Linked DNA regions of Homo sapiens: regions 1 and 3 are each linked to region 2. Evidence: promoter capture Hi-C in human tissues and cell types (Jung and others, 2019). All regions are on one chromosome and are shown on one strand. The core of a region is centred on a gene start or on the middle of the fragment in contact, and the rest is flanking DNA. Distances in the headings are between cores, read along the strand shown.

What was found. The method cuts DNA at HindIII sites, captures the fragments that hold promoters and counts their contacts. A contact is called where the count stands out against the background at its distance.
Region 1: a contact is called between a fragment that was not itself captured here and the fragment with the promoter of PCBD2 in region 2, in 1 of the 25 tissues and cell types used here (IMR-90 fibroblasts).
Region 3: a fragment that was not itself captured here is called in contact with the fragment with the promoter of PCBD2 in region 2 in 1 of the 25 tissues and cell types used here (dorsolateral prefrontal cortex).

What each region holds. Positions count from the first base shown.
Region 1 is chr5:135,181,232-135,183,946 of GRCh38, forward strand. All of the region lies in intron 3 of PITX1-AS1 (PITX1 antisense RNA 1), which reads left to right. Among named protein-coding and RNA genes, the nearest start is that of LINC02900, 66 kb to the right of the region's middle. The HindIII fragment of the contact is 5,242 bases long and covers 1-2,715 here.
Region 2 is chr5:134,903,667-134,906,454 of GRCh38, forward strand. PCBD2 (pterin-4 alpha-carbinolamine dehydratase 2) reads left to right here and starts at 1,465. Exons shown (of 4, transcript NM_032151.5): 1 at 1,465-1,557. The coding sequence starts at 1,474. RefSeq lists a silencer at 1,021-1,780 and enhancers at 1,378-1,962, 1,963-2,548. The HindIII fragment of the contact is 17,365 bases long and covers 1-2,788 here.
Region 3 is chr5:134,406,904-134,409,603 of GRCh38, forward strand. All of the region lies in intron 2 of CDKN2AIPNL (CDKN2A interacting protein N-terminal like), which reads right to left. Among named protein-coding and RNA genes, the nearest start is that of CDKN2AIPNL, 3.6 kb to the right of the region's middle. The HindIII fragment of the contact is 4,343 bases long and covers 1-2,700 here.

The DNA of each region.
Region 1 (2,715 bases), core at 9-2,508, 280 kb after region 2:
CTTATTTAATATATGTTGATGATTCAGAAACATCGACTTCATGGCCAGTAGCGTTGTAACTCATGCTTATCATCTAACACAGCTTGTCCAACCCGTGGCCTGCAGGCTGCATGAGGCCCAGGACAGCTTTGAATGTGGCCCAACACAAATTCATAAACTTTTTAAAAACATTATGAGATTTTTTTTGACGATTTTTTTTTAGCTCATTAGCTATCGTTAGTGTTAGTGTACTTTACGTGTGGCCCAAGACAATTCTTCTTCCAATGTGGCCCAGGGAGGCCAAAAGATTGGAAGCCCCTGCTCTAACACAACTATTTTCTCTATAAAGTACATCATGGCCTTCTTGCTCTTAGGAACATTTCACAGAAGTATTCTTGGGGGCTATTTTAAACAGCAAAACCACCAACAAAAAGAACAATAATATAAGAAAAAAGAAAAAACACATAACCCTACACACAGCAGAAAGGATACTTGTTGTCTGGGTGTGGCGGCTCATGCCTGTAATCCCAGCACTTTGGGAGGCCAAGGCAGGAGGATCATTTGAGATCAGGAGTTTGAGATCAGCCTGACCAAACATGGTGAAAAACCATCTCTACTAAAAATAGTAAAAATTAGCTGGCCCTGGTGGTGAACACCTGTAATCTCAGCTTCTCAGGGGCTGAGGCAACAGAATCCCTTGAACCTGGGAGGCGGGGGTTGCAGTGAGCCGAGATTGTACCACTGCACTCCAGCCTGGGCAACAAAAGCAAACTCCATCTTAAAAAAAAAAAAAAGAAAAAAAAAAGAAAGAAAGGACACTTGTTTACAGTATGAGCTGAGACAAGAAGGCAGAGGGTTTAACTTCAGCTGGACACTTGTACATCAGGTGACTCAGGTGTTTCAGTACTCTATGCATGTCTGCAAATGACCATGAAAGCAATCATAAGTGTTGATTTTGGAGGTTACGAATAGAATTTAGTGAGCATGGCCTAGCCCAGATGTTTGGAGGTTGTTCAAGGCTGGGAGACAGTGGACAGAGCCATTGAGCCATAGGAAACATGGAGAGCAAGGAAGCCTCCACGTGGTCCCACAGCCAGCTGCTGGCCCAGCCCTGAGCAAAGGGAGGCTGAGGACTCTGAGGCCCTAGGCTAGACTAGGGCTGAGCCTGAATGGCTTTGTCCATAGTTACCCTGATGGATTTTCCACACGGAGCACTTCAGCTGTTTATGGCAGTGTGTTTATGTGGGTGGGTTGGGGGATATTTTTATTTTTTGGACATATTTTAAACATATACATGAGAAGGAATATACCGTTGCAGGATTTTCATTTTGCGTGCCCTTCTGTATTCTGCCCCCATTGGTTTTGCAGGGGACTGGCAGAAATGGGAACGTCATTTGAATTGGTTGTGTGTGGAGTTAGGAGCCTGAGCATTCATGCAGAGGAAGGGGATGTATATGAATTCCCCAGTAGAGAATCCCCCCAGGCCTGGCTCAAGGGGGAAGGTGAGGAAGGGTGGGAGTAGGGCTGGGGAGGAGCAGAGCAGGGCACCCCCAGTCTTCTAGGGCTCTTGGCAGAATTACCTACCCCCCATGAATCTTCTAGAGGCTGACTTTGAGACCTTGGAGGGTCCCTGGTCCCCACCAGTCACCTTAGCATCCAGGTGGTGAGGCCTCCCAGTCACCACACAGCAGAGCTGGTGCTGGGGCCCGGGCCTCTGGGCTGTGGACCTGTGCGCTTTTCACATCAGCACAGTGCCACGGCTGTTCCCTCTCACAGCGGCACTTCCTTTTCCTTCTTTTGTTAGAGACTGCTGTTAGCCCCATGGAGAGGCTAAGAACTTGGGTTTTGGAGTCAGACTGCGCATGTTGGAATCTTGGCTTAGTCGCTTACTGGCTGTTCGACCCAGGACAAGTAACTTCTCTGTGTCTGTTTGCTCGTTTTAAAATAAGAAGGCTGGGCGCAGTGGCTCACAACTGTAATCCCAGCAGTTTGGGAGGCTGAGGTGGGTGGATCACCTGAGGTCAGGAGTTTGAGACCAGCCTGGCCAACATAGTGAAACCCCGTCTCTACAAAAATACAGAAATTAGCTGGGCATGATGGTGGGTGCCGGTAATCCCAGCTACTCTGGAGGCTGGGGCAGGAAAATTGCTTGAACTGGGGAGGCGGAGGTTGCAGTGAGCCAAGATCGCGCCATTGCACTCCAGTCTGGGTGACAGAGCAAGACTCTGTCTCAAAAAAAAAAAAAAAAAGAAGAAGAAGAAGAATACCTATTACTCAGGGTTGCATTGAGGATTTAACCAGTTAATAGTTTAAAACCATTTAGAACAGTCCTGGCACAAAATAAGAGCTATGTGAGTGCTTGTAAAGTAAAGAAAATGTATGAAGTTGCCGTGTGATCTGGGGTAAGTTGCCCTTAGCCTCAGGTTATTCATCTAAACAATGGGGTGGATATTGATACCTACCACAAAGGGTGGCTATGACTCAGTATGATGAAGAATGAGCTTACGATGCTTAGCACAAGGTAAGCTTTACAAAACTGTCAATGATTTGTATCATTGATATTATTATTAATTGGCAGCTGTCTCCCGGTTCAATTGGCAGTGTCTTGCCTTGAGTTCAGATGAGGGAGAGAGAAAATGCAAAGCACGAGCCAGGAGTTAGGGAGGCGAGTCGAGACTGCCGAGTCTGCATTCACAGGAGGCCAGAGGTGGCTTTTGGGCTTCCCCCTGGCAAGGA
Region 2 (2,788 bases), core at 215-2,714:
TTTTGCTGTCGATGGAATGCAGTGGCGTGATTTCAGCTCACTGCAGCCTCCCGGGCTCAAGCCATCCTCCCATCTCAGCCTCACGGATAGCTGGAACTACCAGCACGTGCCACCACGCGTGGCTAATTTTTGTATTTTTAATAGAGATGGGGTTTTGCCATGTTGCCCAGGCAGATCTCGAACATCTGGCCTCAAGTGATCCTCCTGCCTTGTCCTCCCAAAGTGCTGTGATTACAGGTGCGGGCCACCATGCCTGGCCTGCTTAAACTATTCAGTTAAAAACAAACAAAAAAGAGGCCGGGCGCGGTGGCTCACGCCTGTAATCCCAGCACTTTAGGAGGCCGAGGCGGGCGGATCACGAGGTCAGGAGATTGAGGCCATCCTGGCTAACACTGTGAAACCCCGTCTCTACTAAACATACAAAAACAAAATTAGCCGGGCGTGGTGGCGGGTGACTGTAGTCCCAGCTACTCGGGAGACTAAGGCAGGAGAATGGCGTGAACCCGGGAGGCGGAGCTTGCAGTGAGCCGAGATCGCGCCACTGCACTCCAGCCTGGGCGACAGAGCGAGACTCCGTCTCAAAAAAAAAAAAAAAAAAAAAAGATACAAGTGAGTATTCTTAATAGTATGTCAATTACATCTCAAAAAAGTCAAAAAAAAAAAAAAAAAAAGAATGAAAGAATACCTCCCCAAAAATGATACAAGAAAAGATTCACCTAAATCTGTTCACAGCTGTCTGCAGAGCTCCTACTGTGTGCTGAGCCTGGGGGTAAACAGGGCACGGACACGTTTGGGAGGGGATTACAGGCCGGGTTTCCACACTTTTTGGTCCAGGCAAACCCAGACGAGCCAGCTGGCTCAAGAACTTGGCAGCTGCGTGATGACTGAACAGAGGCTGCGTTCGAACCCACTACTGCAAGACTTAGGAGCCCCCGATGGGAACTGCCGTGGTTCACTGCCCCAGCCCCGCCGCTCAACTGCCCCGCCCTGGCCTACGACATCCTCCTGCCCGCATGGACTGCGCGCAGCGCCGCCAAGCGGGGAGCCCAGCTCGGTGCTAGCGCCCGCGAAGCGGAGGAGGCCGGCGCCCGAGGCTGGGCGAAGTTCCTCCTAGCGCAGCGAGGACCGGAGGGCAAGGCCAGCGCGCGCCGGGCGACCTGCGTCCCGGGCACAGACGCGACGGGCCCGCACGGGGCGGGGACCGCGCGCGCCTGCTGGGCCTACGGCTGTGGGGCGCGCAGAGTCCACCTGGCGGCCAAGGGCGCTGGCGACCGCTGAAGCTCCTGGGGGTGTTCGGGGTCCGGGCTGCGCCTGTGCCCGCGGGAAGGCTGGGCGCTTCCCACACACAGACCCCGCTCCGGGCCAGCCCCGCAGGGAGACTACCAGGGCTGGCGGTAGCTGGGCGTGGTCGGGTCGGGGGCGGCTGTGGGCGGCCGGCAGGCAGCGCGCGGGGCAGCCCTCGGCAGACGGCCAATGGCGGCGGTGCTCGGGGCGCTCGGGGCGACGCGGCGCTTGTTGGCGGCGCTGCGAGGCCAGAGCCTAGGGCTAGCGGCCATGGTGAGTGCACAGCGGCCGCGTGGGTGGGGGTCCGGGGTCGGGGGGCGGTGCGAGGCCCGGCGGCGTCGGCTGAGGGACCAGCGGGACTGGGGCGAACCCGGCGTGGGCCGAGCCTTGGAGCTCGGGCGTCGGGTCACCGCGTCCCGGGACTGACCACCTGTCCGGTGCGCCGCTCAGAGACCGGGGTGGCCGCAGCCTCCGCCACTTGCCCTTGACTTTACACTTCCGCCGAAGCCTACGAACTTGCCAACCGGAAACAAATGGGAACGAATTTTGTTCAGCAACTACAAAAGGCAGATGTGAAAAGTAGTTGCAGAACAATTCGGTGCCCGCTGCCGCTCGTTGTGCTGAGGACGAACGGCGCTGCGGGCCTGGCTCCCTATGGCGGCTCCCTGCTCGCGCTTCACTCCAAGGGGAACCCACAGAGGTTTTGGAGGAGTTATTAATAAATTGTCTTTTTTGGTGACATATTGACTTTTCTTTCCTTTTCCAAGGGGCCGTCAGTTTTCCTGCTGTAGAAATTAATATTTTGGAGTAAATGGAGGGAAAGTTTTAACATGCAGCACCACCTAGTGGAAAAGTGGTGCGTTAAACTCACCATCTCATTTTAAGTTGCATTTTAACCGCCCATTTCAGTTTGAAATGTTTTGTTTTGTTTTGTTTTTTCGACACGGAGTCTCGCTGTATCGCCGAGCCCGGAGTGGAGTGGCGCGATCTCGGCTCACTGCAACCTCCATCTCCTGGGTTCACGCTATTCTCCTGCCTCACCCTCCCGAGTAGCTGCGATTACAGGCGCGTGCCATTTCGCCCAGGTAATTTTTTATATTTTTAGTAGAGAGGGGTTTTCGCCATGTTGGCCAGGCTAGTCTCGAACTCCTGACCTCAGGTGATCTACCTGCCTCGGCCTCCCAAAGTGCTGGGATTACAGGCGCGAGCCACTGCGCCTGGCCTGAAATTCTTTAATAGAAGAATTTTTTTTTTTTTTTTTTTTTTTTTTTGAGAAGGAGAATCACGCCGTCACCCAGGCTGGAGTGCAGTGGCGCGATCTCGGCGTATTGCAAGCTCCGCCTCCCGGGTTCACGCCATTTTCCTGCCTCAGCCTCCCGAGTAGCTGGGACAACAGGCGCCCGTCGCCACGCCCGGCTAATTTTTTTGTATTTTTAGTAGAGGCGGGGTTTCACCGTGTTAGCCAGGATGGTCTCGATCTCCTGACCTCGTCATCCACCCTCCT
Region 3 (2,700 bases), core at 116-2,615, 500 kb before region 2:
AAGTATCTCACTTTTCAGGATCAGCTGAATTTCACTTAGAGTGGCATCAACAGACTAAAGTTAAACCTGGCTACTTAGAAAAACATAAGTTTTATTTGAAGGAAGTTGCAACACACAATTCAAAAATGCTATAGAAGTATGGCCTCTATATAGGCTTCTTCCACATAGCTAACTGCTAATGATTAGTAAGATGGCGGCACTGGTTTCAAGAAGATAATTTCATGCCTGAGGACTCTTCTCTGTAGACTCACACTGTGCAATGACAGTGTCAAGAATGAACATCCCAGGGCAGGGGCTCTGTACATTTTTTAGGTATAAGACCCCTTTAGGATGTTTCAGAAAGACCCTTCCTAACACACACACACACACACACACACACACACACACACACACACTTCACACTGGTCTATAGATAATGTTTGGGACGTGCCAAACCTCCTTAGTCTCCTACTGGGGTCTGCAGCCCAATGTCATTAGGTGTTCTGATCTCTAATACCCAACATGACTGGAAAGAGTTCAGATACCTTTCAGAAAACATATAAGACAGAGAAGTATAATGGAGAACTGATATAAAAAATCAGAAAACCTTGCTGGGCACAGTGGCTAACGCATGTAATCCCAGCACTTTGGGAAGCTGAGGTGGGTGGATCACCTGAGGTCAGGAGTTCGAGAACAACTTGGCCAACATGGTGAAACCTCATCTCTACTAAAAAATACAAAAAATAGCCGCGCGTGGTGGCAGGCGCCTGTAATCCCAGCTTCTTGGGACGCTGAGGCAAGGGATCGCTTAAACTCGCGAGGCAGAGGTTGCAGTGAGCTGAACCATTGCACTCCAGCCTGGGCAACAAGAGCAAAACTCCATCTCAAAAAAAAAAAAAAAGGAAAATCAGAAAACCTCTTAGAAACAAAAAGGAAAGAATCTATCACAAGCAGTTAAAAAATAAAGGCTCGGCCAGGTGCAGTGGCTCACGCCTGTAATCCTAGCACTTTGGGAAGCTGGGCAGATCACTTGAGGCCAGGAGTTCAAGACCAGCCTGGACAACATGGCAAAACCCTTTCTCTACTAAAAATACAAAAATTAGCTGGGTATGGTGGCACCCGGCTGTAATCCCAGCTACTGGGGAGGCTGTGGCGCTAGAATCACTTGAGCCTGGGAGGCAGAGGTTGCAGTGAGCTGAGATCGTGCCACTGCACTCCAGCCTGGGTGACAAAGTGAGCCTCTATCTAAAAAATAAATTAAAAATAAAGGCTCACCTCATTCCCTGCCTACCTCTGCCCCTGCCCCTGCCCCATAAGGTATACTCCAGTAGCCAGAAACTATCTAGCTCCTCCCTGGCTGGGCCCCAAGAACCTTACTATAGAACACCCAAGGACTGCCCAGTATTTTTTTAAGTATTACATGAGAAGATCCAAAAAGCCACACACTCCCAATTCACACTGCTCCCTGGCTAAAAACAGTAGCCCCTTTTTAACAGCTGATTTTAGTCCTGGTGCGGTGGCTCACACCTGTAATCCCAGCACTTTGGGAGGCCGAGGCGGGCGGATCACGAGGTCAGGAGATCGAGACCATCCTGGCTAACACGGTGAAACCCCGTCTCTACTAAAAATACAAAAAAAAAAAAAAAAAAAAAATTGGCTGGGCGTGGTGGCAGGCGCCTGTAGTCCCAGCTACTCAGGAGGCTGAGGCAGGAGAATGGTGTGAACCTGGGAGGCAGAGCTTGCAGTGAGCCCAGATCGCACCACCTCACTCCAGCCTGGGCGACACAGGGAGACTCCCTCTCAAAAACAAACAAACAAACAAACAAAAACAAAAAAACAGCTGATTTTACTTACTGATTTTTTGTCAGGAGTACTGTGTTGAGGTAACAGCTGATTTTAAAACATAATAGCATCTCGAAAACCAACCTGAAGCTTTTCCCCAGGTTCAGATTAAAACTAAAAGAATACTTTTTTAAGAAAAACAAACCATCCTGAAAATCAAGTGGGGTGTACTATTTGGGACTGAAATACTTTATGAGCAACTGAGAATCTGATTAGTTCCTTGACACCCATATGGAAGAGGACCTCTATATGTGCCCCACCTCCCAAGACAAGACCTAAATGTGGAGGAATGGGCTTACCTATGTTTCTAAGGGCAGACCTAAAAAGGGGCCAGCAGCTTTTTACTCTACTGCTTCAGTCGATTTTATAAGTATTTTCTGAGTACCTTCTCTGGGGTATAAGTATACTAGGTTTGGGAGTTGTAAAGACTAAATAGAACTTTAGACACCATCTGTAAGGTCACAACTGCTTTAAAAGAGCCCTGGATAAAGTGCCAAAGGAACTTCAGAAGATAAGCGAGCAATTAATTCTGCTGCCTGAGCAGACAAATGTGAAACAAGCATGTTTTGGAGGTGATTCTGAAAAGTATTAATAGCTGGGATGCCCAGCTCCATATTCTGAGGTTCTTTCTGCCACATTCTGTAGCCCCAGCTCCAGTGTCCAGATTCAAGACTCTAGGCAAGACTCACTGTAAAAAGCCCATCGCCTGAGATCAGACCCCAAAGGGTAGAGAACAGCTATGCCATCGACATTGCTCCAGGCACGTTCTTATCAGCAAATCACAGAAGCCAAACAAGTCAGGTCGGCACTCACACCGGCACTCACACCTGGGGTAAGGATGAGTCTTACCAATGAGATTTTTTAACAAGTAGGAAACTT